3 separate regions of the Homo sapiens genome follow, and regions 1 and 3 are each linked to region 2. The links are contacts of gene promoters, found by promoter capture Hi-C in blood cells and fetal thymus (Javierre and others, 2016). All regions are on one chromosome and are shown on one strand. Each heading gives the region's core, a stretch centred on a gene start or on the middle of the fragment in contact. The rest is flanking DNA. Distances are from core to core; before and after follow the strand shown.

What was found. Contacts are between HindIII fragments. The CHiCAGO score rates a contact against its expected background, and 5 or more counts as called.
Region 1: a contact is called between a fragment that was not itself captured here and the fragment with the promoter of TTC36 in region 2, in 1 of 17 cell types (endothelial precursors). The highest score is 5.5, in endothelial precursors.
Region 3: a contact is called between a fragment that was not itself captured here and the fragment with the promoter of TTC36 in region 2, in 1 of 17 cell types (endothelial precursors). The highest score is 5.2, in endothelial precursors.

The regions. Positions count from the first base shown.
Region 1 is chr11:118,443,830-118,448,256 of GRCh38, reverse strand. All of the region lies in intron 1 of KMT2A (lysine methyltransferase 2A), which reads right to left. Among named protein-coding and RNA genes, the nearest start is that of KMT2A, 9.6 kb to the right of the region's middle. The HindIII fragment of the contact is 3,730 bases long and covers 176-3,905 here.
Region 2 is chr11:118,524,801-118,528,723 of GRCh38, reverse strand. It overlaps TTC36 (tetratricopeptide repeat domain 36), which reads right to left and starts at 1,250. Exons shown (of 3, transcript NM_001080441.4): 1 at 1,112-1,250; 2 at 1-121. The coding sequence starts at 1,229. It overlaps KMT2A (lysine methyltransferase 2A), which reads right to left. Exons shown (of 36, transcript NM_001197104.2): 36 at 1,892-3,923. The region is part of intron 1 of TTC36-AS1 (TTC36 and KMT2A antisense RNA 1); the gene reads left to right. The HindIII fragment of the contact is 1,033 bases long and covers 851-1,883 here.
Region 3 is chr11:118,428,716-118,433,488 of GRCh38, reverse strand. No RefSeq gene overlaps it. Among named protein-coding and RNA genes, the nearest start is that of KMT2A, 5.4 kb to the left of the region's middle. The HindIII fragment of the contact is 1,833 bases long and covers 2,398-4,230 here.

The sequences.
Region 1 (4,427 bases), core at 791-3,290, 81 kb after region 2:
ATGGACATAAAAGCTACAAATACTTATTTGTTTCCTATATTGATACCACACCTACTGTTTTCCTTGGTTTCTCTTGATGTTTAAGATTTCTCTCTTAGCTCCACTTAAAAATTTGTATTCTCCTATAAAGCCACTACAAAAACCATTACTTCCTAAAGAAATATCTCTGGAAGCTTCCTACTGGAAAGTAATTATTGCTTCGAGGAGCTGAATAAGAATTTATTTACTGATTCACAGAAGGAAAAGGTAGCTTAAGAGGTCATTTTATACATATGTAGGCAGGACTGTACTTTTAAAATATACTTCCAGAGAAGATAATAAAATTATTTTGGTAACCTTTTTACCATGACTGTAATGACAACCATCATTACCAATAAGTTCTTTACACAACTACTCCTGATTTCGGTTTAAACCTATTTTCTCTTATTCTGCTGTCAGTGGAGCTGGGAAACCGCTGGTTACCATTCCTAATAATGGATCCATTCATGTTTTTTGAAGAGTTATTAAGTTGCCTCTTAACCTTTCATTCTCTCAACCTTTCCTCATAGGACTGACTTCCAATCATATAATCATCTTTTGAGTCTCCTCAGAACCGTCTCCAAGGTCTCCTCATCCCTTTTAAGTTGAGGAACCTAGAAATGGAAACAACACTCAAGTAAGGGGATGATCAGTGCTAAGTATTATCTACATAAAAGATAATGCCATCCCATCAGGATACCCTAACATCGCTTTCAAAACCCCAATCAATACCTTTACAAAAATGTCGCATCATGGCACCTGTGCTTTCCTTTGCCATACTTAAATTAGTATTTCTTAATGATTAGTCCAAATATTCTGTTCGTAGTCTTAAGTTCTCCTAGTTTATGTAATGTGTCCCAGCAAAGTATTCCTAAAAGTTGTATGGACATCAAATTTTCAATTCAACAAATACTATATAAAAAGTCACCATTATAAAAAACATAAAACATAAATGATGACTTAGAAATGGCCCGTGTCTTAAGGGAGTCACTATCTAATGGGACAAAGACAGACACATTTCAAAAGTACCACGACATAAGGTATACGGGGTTAAATTTTTTAAGGATAACATACAAAACACAAAAAGAAAACAGGAAAGAAGTTCAGTTTCAACTAGCAGTACAATCTGTGAAAACTTCATGGAAGAGTTAGGATCTGGGGATCTGAGTTGAACCATGGGAGACGAATAATAAGCCCAAGACAGGTCAAAATGGGAAAGACTTTAAGGCAAAGGAGAGGCTTTAGCAAAGGTACAAAGGCAGATAAACAAAGACTGTGGAGAACACCTAATAGTTCAGTAGTCCAATGTGGTTGAAGCAGTAACGATGTACATTCAGGAGACACGGTTCAAAATTTAGAAATACAGGCTAGCAAGATCATGCAGCGCTGAGAATCTGAAATTTTATTTCATATTCAGTGAGAAGCCAAAGAATTTTAGGAATAAAGTGACATACTCTGATCTGTATTTAAGAAAACTATCATATTGTGAAGCACTGTGTAGGGTGAAAAGATAGGTGGGAAGACCAATGAGAAGATTACCACAATAAACTATCCAAAAGTAATGGAAATTTAAACTAGGACAGCAGGAACAGAACAGCAGGGACAAATGAAAGAAACACTACAATAATATAATGGACAAGACTCAGAAATTGATTGGATGTGAGTGGGAAGAGAAAGGACTTAAAGACAGCACAGTGTAGAGAGCAAGAATCAACTTTCAAACAGATGTAGGTTCAGATTTAAATTCTAGCCCTGCCACTTACTAGCCATATAACTTAAGGAAAACTGTTTAACTTGTCTGTGCCTCAGTTTCTGAGGTGTATTGATGGTTTCTGATGGTGTACTGAGTATGTTAGCAAATCTTTTCTTTTCTTTTCTTTTCTTTCTTTTGAGACACAGTCTCACTCTATCCTCCAGGATGGAATGCAGTGGTGTGATCTCAGCTCACTGCAACCTCTGCCTCCCGGGTTCAAGCGATTCTCATGCCTCAGCCCCCCAAGTAGCTGGGATTGCAGGTGTGCACCACGACATGTAGCTAATTATTGTATTTTAAGTAGAGACAGGGTTCCACCATGTTGGCCAGGCTGGTCTCAAACTCCTGACCTCAAGTGATCTGCCTGCCTCGGCCTTCCAAAGTGTTGGGATTACAGGATTGAGCCACCCCACCCGGCCTGCAAATCTTTTTAAAGAGAGTACAGCAAAACTGTACTTTTCTTTTTTTCTTTCTTTTTTTTGGAGACAGAGTCTTGCTCTTTCGCCCAGGCTGGAGTGTAGTGGCGGAATCTCAGCTTACTGCAACCTCCACCTCCTGGGTTCAGGCGATTCTCCTGCCTCAGCCTCCCGAGTAGCTGGGGATACAGGTGCGCAACCACCACACCCAGCTAATTTTTGTATTTTTAGTAGAGACAGGGTTTCACCATGTTAGCCAGGCTGGTCTCGAACTCCTGACCTCAGGCAATCTTCCCGCCTTGGCCTCCCAAAGTGCTGGGATTATAGGCGTGAGCCACTGCGCCCAACCCAAAACTGTACTTTTCCTCCTTAAACACACTACTCTTTACTAGTTATTCTTAAACTCTAATCTGCTTTTGACCATTCTGCTCAAGTTCCAACCCCCAGAAATTGCAACCTACAATTCAGCATTTCTTCTATAATTAAATGGTTACTTGCATTGATCTCTGTAGACCAGCACTCATTCTCCTCAAGCTGACACTTAAGAACAAATGTCATCAAGTATAGACTAATGGGTCTGAACCTGGAGCCCAAGAACCCTGAAGAGCCTCAGAGCTGTTATAAGGAACGACCAAGTGCCTCCTCATAAAAATATCAGGAACACTAGTTATAGAGACAACAGGTAGCAACCCCATTATAGCTGCCTTGGCCTGATAATTAGCAACTCATGGAGGCACTGTGTTCCTCGGTATCTTACTTGCCTATTTACCATCTTGTTCTCTTTCTTCTTTTTTGCCTTATCTTTAATATGCTTTAGTTGGACACTAATGTTGTTACCAAGACGGGTGGCTGGCCTTCAATTTGGTTCCACCTAGTTTATAGAAGAACTTGACACTCAGACTAATATCAAGAACATTCTAAGATTATAGCACTCAAATAGGTGTATGTATGCATACATATACAGGTATAACTTAATGTAATAAAAACCAGTTATTTTGATGAAAAAAAAAGATTATAACCCTGCTCTCCTTTCAATCTCTTGGTTCTAACAATTAGGGCTTCCTATGTGCCAGGCAAAATGCTAAGTGCTTACATGCATGATCTCACTTAAGCCTCACAATGAGACTATGAAGCATGAGTACCTCTCAGTTACAAATGAAGAAACAGAGGTATGGAGAGGTTCAAAAACTTTTCTGGTTGGGTGCAGTGCCTCACATTTGTAATCCCAACACTTTGGGAGGCTGAGGTAGGGGGACCACTTGAGGCCAGGAGTTCAAGACCAACCTGGGCAACATGGTGAGACTCCCATCTCTACAACAAATAAAACAATTAGCTGAGTGTGGTGGTGCATGCCTGTAGTCCCAGCTACTTAGGAGGCTGAGACAAGAGGATTGCTTGAGCCCTGGAGGTTGAGGCTGAAATGAAATGTTTGTGCCATTACACTCTAGCCTAGGCAACAAAGCAAGATCCTGTCTCAAACAAACCAAACAAAACACAAAAAAAACTTTTTCAAGATGGCTGAGCTTAGATTTGAACTCAGGCAGTTTAAATCCAGAGCCCATGGTCTTAACAACTCTTAATTACTATGCTAAACGATCTCACACCACTACAGATTAGATTATGAGATTCTCCCTTTCTTCTGTAAAGGTATTTATATATGCACAAATAAAAAATCCTAGCCAAAGAGATTACAAAAGGATTTCCTCATTAGCTAAGCTTAAAGAGATGTTATCCACAAGGTTTTACTGCTTATAATTAAAGGCAATAATCTAGGGACAATGTTTGTGTTTGATCTAAAAAGTGGTCAATCCTCATGGATGGACAGAAGTTGAATATGGGCATGTGTAAATATTTCTTTCTCTAGGTGTAGGATATTTATTAGAGATAAGAATTAACTTTTCCCTAGTGTTTAGAACTGAGATAGTATAAAGGACAGCCTAAAGAAAAAACTATTCTCCAAAACCCTTCTCACAAGTAATATCACTCTCCTAATTCAAGACAGAAAGCTACCATTACCTTGATGCTGTAAAATAAGAATGAAACAATGATGCTTCAGCAAAGCATAGATAATACAAGTGGATCTCTCTAAAACAGTATGAATGTTAGAAAGATTCATATCTTTTGTTGCTGAAAGACATCAAAACATCTATACCCAAACATCCCAACAAAACACAAAACCAGAAATGCAAGAAAATGGATAAAACACTATATACGGAAGAAACTCCAGCTCCTGAAATAAA
Region 2 (3,923 bases), core at 1-2,500:
AGGCAGATGGCTTGGCCAAACCTCTCCAGGGCTGTGCTGAGGTCCCCAGCCTCTGCTGCCATCACCCCCTGCAGCTCCAGGGCCTTGGACTGTTCCAGCTGTGCTTGAGGGAAAACTTCATCTGGGCCAGGGAAGGAGCCAGGAGAAGCCAGGTGTGCAGTTGGTAGCAAGAAGAAAAAGCCACCTCAGGCTTTGGAATTCTGAGATCTGAGCCAGAGCTGACTGGGTATGGGTCACAGCAGGGGTCAGTTGCAGTGTTTGGGGTAGGGGGAGATGAGGTCACTAAGGCTGGGAGCTAGCATTGCCTGAGTTCCAAGAGACCTGGGAAGGGGCCTTGGTTGGTTCCCCATTGCCAAGAGAATGAAGCCCAGACTCCTCAATCTGTTAAAGAAGTTGCTCAAGTTCTTTGTGTATGGCCTCAACAGGCCATACGTTGCAGAGCTTGGATTTGAACCCAGGTCATTCTGGCTCCTGTCTGCATTTTACTCTACTACACCGCCTCTTATGCAAAGGCCACCATGACATTCCCAGATCATGAACATCACTTCTGACGTATCCCTCTGTGTTTCGGCCTGAGTTAGTAAGGTGTAGGCTTTACTCCTCTAGAAACAAAGGATCAAAAACTCCTTCATTAGGGATTAATGGAAAAGCCAGTGAACGCACTCACTGCGGAAGAGTTAGTTTGGAGCTTGGCTTGTGACAGTGTTTAACGGTTACTGGTTGTGCTTGCTATATTGGAACCACTCAACTGAGCAACCATGCCCTGCCTTATTTCAGTCTTCTGTTCTGGTGGTGGTATTCTCTGTTATGACAAAAATGTGAGAGTTTAACATCACCTGGCAGTTAAGCTTGGATCATACAGTCAATTAAGTGGTAAGTTCAGAGGCATGAGAGCTGATGGATCGAGAGACAAACCCCAGCTTACTCCTCTTGGCAGGACATCTCTTACCAAACCCCCATCAGTGCGCTAAGGAGCAGCCAACCTCTCTGATTCCAATCTCAATCATAATCATGGAACAAGGGGCCTTATAAAACCACCTCCCTCTCTGCTACCTCGGGAGGCCAGCAGGCCAGCCTATGTGCAGAGCTACACTCCAGATCAAATGCCCACCTTCTTCTCGTTCTTCCTTTTCTGCTTCCTCTCCGAGGTCCAATCCAACAATGTCTCCAAATGGGGTGTCAGGGTTGAAGATGGCCTGCAGCACTGCCTGATCATTTGGAGTCCCCATGGTGCTCAACTCCAAAATCCCAAAAGGTGACTCCAGATGAGAGAAGAGGGAGGGACGTGGTGAGGGTGGAGCCTCCAGCAGGAAGTTGATCTGAAAGGATGAGGACCACCCCTTCGTGAGGAGTGTCTCCCTGTCCATGGCTGTAGCATTTGCTCAACCTGTGGCCTGGAGGGTTGACCCTGGCTTGGCAGACTACTTGGTTATTTCTCAACTGCCCCTGCCCCCAGGAGAAACAGTAAACAAATCCAGCTTCAGCCTTAAGGTGGAGTGCAGCTAGAGAAGGTGTTCTCCAGCTTCTCCCTGAAATGCTTTCAGTTTATTATATTCACAGTTGAGAAAACCGATAAAAATCAATACTTAACCTCCTTGGATGAAACAGGGGAGCTATGTAGAAGGTAAAGGCCCTGTTCCTTTGTCCTCTTGACCCTGCCTCATATCCACAATTAATTAGGTCCTGAACATACATCACTGATGAATAAAGGAAGAAAATAGTCAAGAGAGCCAGTGTGGAGTGGACCTGAAGGTGGGCTACAGGGAATAATTTAGTGATGCCACCTTAAAGTAAAGGACTGTGGAAGGTACTTTGTGACCAGGTCACAGGCCATGCCCCTCCCGCTTTTCTCCACCCTCTCCAACCAAAGCCAAAAGGAAGCTTAACCATGTGCAGCAATAAACTTGACATGTTTATTAATTAAACTATCACTTAAATAAAAAAAAGTGCATAGAAAATAAACATGTTTAAAAACTCCTTTTTTTTACAACTATGTACACTTTTTACTTTTACATTCAGTCTTTCGTAGAGAGCTTTCAGCATTATTATTTTTTGAACTATTAAAGTATTTTCCTTCATCCCTGTCACAGGGAGTTAACACTGATGGACTTTAGACACATTTTCCTTTTTTTTTTTTCTCTTTTTCTCTAACCAGAAGCTTGGAAGAACACAAGGAAAAAAAACAGATCTGTTATACATGATAAAGTTGTCAAAAAATGTCTTATTTCTAGAAAAGAAGCTTGTCATCTGTTGAGCTCTTGAAACAATTATTCAACTACCTGTATTTACTAAAGAGACTGTTAAAAGTTCAATAAAAGAAACACCACAATTCTATTTTCTTGGTTGAAAGACAGAACTAGAGTACCTCGGAACAAGATACCAGGAAAGCACAGAACACAATTTTCCCCTAAATGCAGGTGGTAACCCCAACATTCATAACCAAAAATAGAGAAACAAGGAGGACAGGTACTGACTGGCAACATTCATGGGCAGAAAAAAATCCAGGTGACACCATGTCTGCATTTTTCTCTGATCCGAGGAATGGACTGTTCTACCATTCCTTTATGGTTAGAGGTTCCCCCCATTTCGGGAATCAGAGGAAAGTGAGCCTGACATCTTCCTGCCGCTACTAGCAACTGTAACACAATCCTTATCTATAGTGTTAAGAGAATTAAAAGCCATGGACTGAACTAGGCTTTGTTACATGGTGCATTACTATATTAGTTCCTATATATATCATATTTATATTTATTTGAAAACCAAAACAAACAAAAAGTTGCAAGTTTCCAGAGTGTGTGACTTGACTAGTATTCATGATTCGGCACAAAACCATCTGCTCCATAACCTTGTATTGCTTTAAAATGAAGGAAATGAAACATAAAATTACACCCAGCCCTTTGCAATGACCCGCTTTTCCTTAAAAACAAAAACAACTTGATTTCTATTAAAAAAAAAAAATCCCAAACCGAACTTAGAAGTTAACATCTGACAAGGTTTTGACCTTTAGTATTTTCAGATATTTGATTGAACGTCAGTCCTTTAGAAAGATACATTCATTAGAATATTTTTTTTATTTTTGTGTGTGTGTTGTATTTTTTTTTCCTTTTTTTTTTATTTTTTATTTTTTTTAAATCAAGGGAGCTACATGGTGCTCACTGCATTGGCCGGGGGTTTGACGGAGGCGAGCAGGGTGGCGGGCTGGGTCCCGGCAAAGGAGTCTGGTTGAAAACGTATAGCTGCCAGGGCTTCCCCCTTAATTCTTGTTATTGGTGTAAAAACAGAGGGGCTGTGCGAGAGGTGGTGGGTGGCCAAGGAGGGAGCCAAGAGACCAAGTTCCGGCCAAAGGGTCAGCGCCATGCAGCTATTCTGGTTACACAGTTGTCACTGGCCACCAGGAAATGCAGCCACAACAGGTTCTAGCAGCAAAGCTATAAGTGAGCTGGCTCTCACTGAGAACTGACCAGGTTTGCAGCTGTTACTCCTCAGGGATTTGGGATGCCCCTTGGGGGATTCTTGGGAATGACCCATCACAATTCCTCAATCTGCACTTTTGTGCGGAGATTCCCTTGGTCACTTTTGAAATGAACTCAGATGTGTTTGGAGATAGCTGTGCCGTTTTTGCCTTCTTTCCCTCTTGTAGGGAAACCTTCGCTTATTCCCCCAAGTTGCTGGCAGGTGTGCTGAAAATTTGGCAATGGACTCAAGGCTGAGCTAGAAGAGGAATTTCTCATTTTTGTGGTTGACAATTAGGGGGTGGAAAGGCAAGGCAAACCATCTGCAGCTGGCAGGAGAAGGAAGCTGTGGGTTCCTCCCCTGTCCTCAGGGTTTAGGGTTGGTAGAGAGTGAGGAGGGGCTCACAGTACAGCATGGCCTAGCAGGGCAGTAACTAGGTCTATTTAGCTGAGTTCCCCCCACCCCCTGAC
Region 3 (4,773 bases), core at 2,065-4,564, 97 kb after region 2:
TCATTCAACATATTTTTCTTGAATACCTAATACATTCATATGGTTAAAAATTTAAGGCCGGGCACGGTGGCTCACGCCTGTAATCCCAGTACTTTGGGAGGCTGAGCTGGGCAGATCACCTGAGGTCAGGAGTTCAAGAACAGCCTAGCCAACATGGTGAAACCCCCGTCTCGACTAAAAATACAAAAATTAGCGGGTGTGGTGGCGGGTGCCTGTAATCAGCTACTCGGGAGGCTGAGGCAGGGGAATCACTTGAACCCGGGGGGCGGAGGTTGCAGTGAGCCGAAATCGCACCACTGCACTCCAGCCTGGGCGACAGAGTGAGACTCCATCTCTAAAAAAAAAAAATTAAAAAAAAAAATTTAAAAGGAGGCCGGGCGTGGTGGCTCACTCCGTAATTTGGGAGGCCAAAGCGGGCGAATCATGAGGTCAGGAGTTTGAAACCAGCCTGGCTAACATGGTGAAACCCCATCTCTATGAAAAATACAAAAATTAGCCGGGTGTGGTGGCAAGTGCCTGTAATCCCAGCTACTTGGGAGGTTGAAGCAGGAGAATCGCTTGAACCTGGGAGGCAGAGGTTGCAGGGAGCTTAGATCCCACCATTGCACTCCAGCCTGGGCGACAGAGCAAGACTCCATCTCAAAAAAAAAAAAAAAAAAAAAAAATTAAAGGAATTAAAGTCCTTAAAGTCCTCACTTTATTTTTGCTCTGAATCATCCTCTCCCCAACCTCAGTAATATTACTTACCCTTTAGTAGGAGTAACTGTTATCAGTCTATTGTATATTCTTCCATACATAGTCTATGCCTACAAAAGCATACACATATAGAAGTTTTTGCATAAATAAAAGCATATCAAACCAATTTCCTGAATCTTGCTTATTTCACTTATATCTTGGAAATATTACTATAAGTAGACAGTTTCCTCATTATTGGGGCTGTATGGAATAGAGATAGAGCTTACTTTAATCAGTTCTCTATCGGTGGGCACTTGAGTTGTTTCCAATCTGTTGCATGTATTTCACACAATGCTGCAGTGCATAACCTTTAATATACGTCATTTTGCAAATGTTCAAATGTATCTGTAGTATAGATTTCTAGAAGAGCAGTTGCTGAGTCAAAAGGTATGTACATTTGTAGTTTTAATAGACAGTGCCAAGTTGTCCCCGGTAAAGGTTATGCTAATTCATACTCCCACCAGCAATGTTCTAGAGTGCCTTTTGGCTGGGTGCAGTGGCTCATGACTGTAATTCCAACACTTCTGGGAGGCAGAGGTGGGCAAATCACCTGAGGTCAGGGGTTCGAGATCAACCTGGCCAACATGGCAAAACTCCGTCTCTACTAAAAATAGAAAAATTAGCCTGGCGTGGTGGCACACACCTGTAGTCCTAGCTACTCAGGAGGCTGAGGCACCAGAATCACTTGAACCGGGGAGGTGGAGGTTGCAATGAGCCAAAATCACCCCACTGCACTCTAACCTGGAAGACGGAGAAGAGTGTCTCAAAAAAAAAAAAAAAAAAGAAGAAGAAAAAAAGAGTGCCTCTTTCATAATTCCAGGACTTCGGGAGGCTGAGATGGGAGGATCTTGAGCTCAGGAGTTTGAGACCAGCCTGGGAAACTTGGCATGTGCCTGTAGTCCCAGCTGCTAGTGGAGCTGAGGTGGCTGAGGCTGCAGTGAGCTGAGATCAGGCCACTGCACTCTAGCCTGGGCAAGAGAGTGAGATGAGACCTTGTCTCAGAAAAAGAAAAAAAATAATTAATTAATAAAATAAAATAAAATAAAATAAATAATAGATAAATAAAAGTGCTCCTTTCTCCACAGCATTCCAAAAAGGGTTTTTTTTTTAACTTTTTTGATCTTTGTCAACCTAATGCACATATTTTAAATTTTTTCCAAGTGACAGAAGGAAACTTTTAAGAAGGGAACCCCAAATTTTGCCAATTTCTGCAAACGAATTAATTACTTCTGTTTAAGGGGACTTCTAGATATTTATTCCCTTTCCCCCTCACCTGGAAAGATTTATCTTGAGAACCAATATTGTGACAGAATTAACATCAGCTCAGAGTCACAAATCTGGGCTTGATTTGCATGTCCAATAATGTTAGCTATATGATCTTGAACCAGGCACCCAGCCTCAGTACGTCTTAGTTTCCTAATCTGCAAAAATAAGGATATTAATTATAGCTTCACAAGATTATCATGAAGATTGAATGAGTAAATAAGATGTCTTCTCTCTAATCCAGACAGAAACATTTTCTCCCCAGGGATTTCCTTAACCACTGGTGCGGCTGCCCCTCTGAAATTAGCAATTTTTTCTCCAAAGGGCCCCCAAGTGGACACATTGCATCAGTAGTCCCAAAGTCCTCCAACAAAGAACAGTGGCTGAGTTATTTAAGCTTGTCCAAAGGAAGGCTTGATCATCACTGAGCAGAGAACTGTTCAGAATCCTCAGGTGCTGCTTTTTTTCTGGGGAAAAAAGGGTACAGTCCATTACTCTTCCACAAAAACACTCTTCTAATTAAGGAAGCAATGGCTGCATTTTACCCTGAATCCGTGAATTTCCATTTCTGAGCTTTAAAAAAAAAAAATTATATATATTGGCCGGGCGTGGTGGCTCACGCCTGTAATCCCAGCACTTTGGGAGGCCAAGGTGGGTGGGTGACCTGAGGTTGGGAATTCGAAACCAGCCCGGCCAACATGGAGAAAACCCTGTCTCTACTAAAAATACAAAATTAGCTGGGCGTGGTGGCGCATGCCTGTAATCCCAGCTACTTGGGAGGCTGAGGCAGGAGAATCGCTTGAACCCGGGAGGCAGAGGTTGCGGTGAGTCGAGACTGCGTCATTGCACTCCAGCCTGGGCAACAAGAGCAAAACTTCATCTCAAAAAAATAAATTATATATAGCTATTCCTATGACTAAAAGGACTTTTTTGTTTGTTTGAGACAGAGTCTCACTCTCGTCCAGGCTGGGGTGCAGTGGTGCAAACTCGGCTCACTGCAACCTCCGCCCCAGAGTTCAAGCGATTCTCCAGCCTCAGCCTCCTGAGTAGCTGGGATTACAGGCGCCCACCACGACACCCGGCTAATTTTTGTACTTTTTTTTTTTTTTTTTTTTTTGAGACAGAGTCTCGCTCTGTCATCCAGGCTGGAGTGCAGTGGCGTGATCTCAGTTCACTGCAACCTCCACCTTCCGGGCTCAAGGAATTCTCCCACCTCAGCCTCCCTAGTAGCTGGGATTACAGGTGTGTGTCACCAAGCCCAGCTAATTTTTGTATTTTTAGTAGAGACAGGGTTTCACCATGTTGGCCAGGCTGGTCTTGAACTCCTGACCTCAAGTGATCCATCCATCCCAGCCTCCCAAAATGCTGGGATTACAGGTGTGAGCCACTGCACCCAGCCTTAATTTTTGTACTTTTAGTAGAGATAAGGTTTCGCCACCTTGACCAGGCTGGTCTCGAACTCCCGACCTTAAGTGCGGGTCAGGAGTTCGGCTTCGGCTTCCAAAGTGCTGGGATTATAAGCATAAGCCACCGTGCCCAGCCTAAAAGGACTTTAAATACAACCCTAGCATAGGCATCTGGCTTTCTGTAAAGAGGTCAGGAGTTCGAGACCAGCCTGGCCAACATGACAAAACCCTGTCTCTACTAAATATACAAAAATTAGCCAGGCATGGTGGCGAATGCCTGTAGTCCCAGCTACTCGGGAGGCCCAGGCAGGAGAATCGCTTGAACCTGGGAGGCAGAGGTTGCAGTGAGCTGCGATCACACCACTGCACTCTAGACTTGGCGACAGAGTGAGACTCCATTTCGAAAAAAAAGAAAAGAATTCAGTAGAGTTCTGCGCAAAGGCAAGGGCTAGATGCTTCTTGGACCATGAGCTCTTTGAGGACAGGAAACCGTGTATTACTTATCATTTTATCCCCTGTGCTGAACGGTGTCTATACCACCCAATTAATGTTTGCAAAATAAATGACTCTTCCCAGATGCACTCTTGGACCTTGGGATTTATACCCAAAGGGTCATGTTTTGTCAGGATTTTGGCAGTTACATGTCATGTCCTGGGCTGTTTGGGTTTTTGTGTGTGTGTGTGTGTTTTTAAGAAACATTTTATTTCAAATCACTTAAGCAGTCCCCATTTGAAATTGTACCAATGACAAAAGTTCATATTTTTCAAAGAGACTAATTACAGGAGTAATTATTATTTGATTATGATTGTTTCACCTTGTAGAAGCTTGAAGGAAATGTTACACTAAAGCATTTTCTTTCCTTCTCTTCCTGATTACTCCAAATTGTACTCTCATAGTAGTCTTCTGGTCAGTGTCCTTACTTTCAACCTTTGTGCTTTCTGATTTTCTTTTGTCCTTTTATTTATTCAACAAGCATTTGTTGAGCACCTACTTTGTACCAGGTACTACGTTAGAGCTGGAGATACAAAGGTGCTACGTCATAAAACTTTCACAGAAGCAGGAAAAGGCATGGGGTTTTTGAGAAACAAAGAGTACTTCGGTATTATTTAAACATAAGATATGTGGCGGGGCGCAGTGGCTCACGACGGTAATCCCAGCACTTTAGGAGGCCGAGGCGGGCAGATCACCTGAGGCTAGAGTTCGAGACCAGCCTGGCCAAAATGGCGAAACCATGTCTCTACTAAAAATAAAAAAATTAGCTGAGTGTGGTGGTGCACGCCTGTAATTCCAGCTCCACGACAATTGCTTGAACCTAGGAGGCGGAGGTTGCAGTTAGCTGAGGTTGAGATTCTGCCTCAACAACAACAAA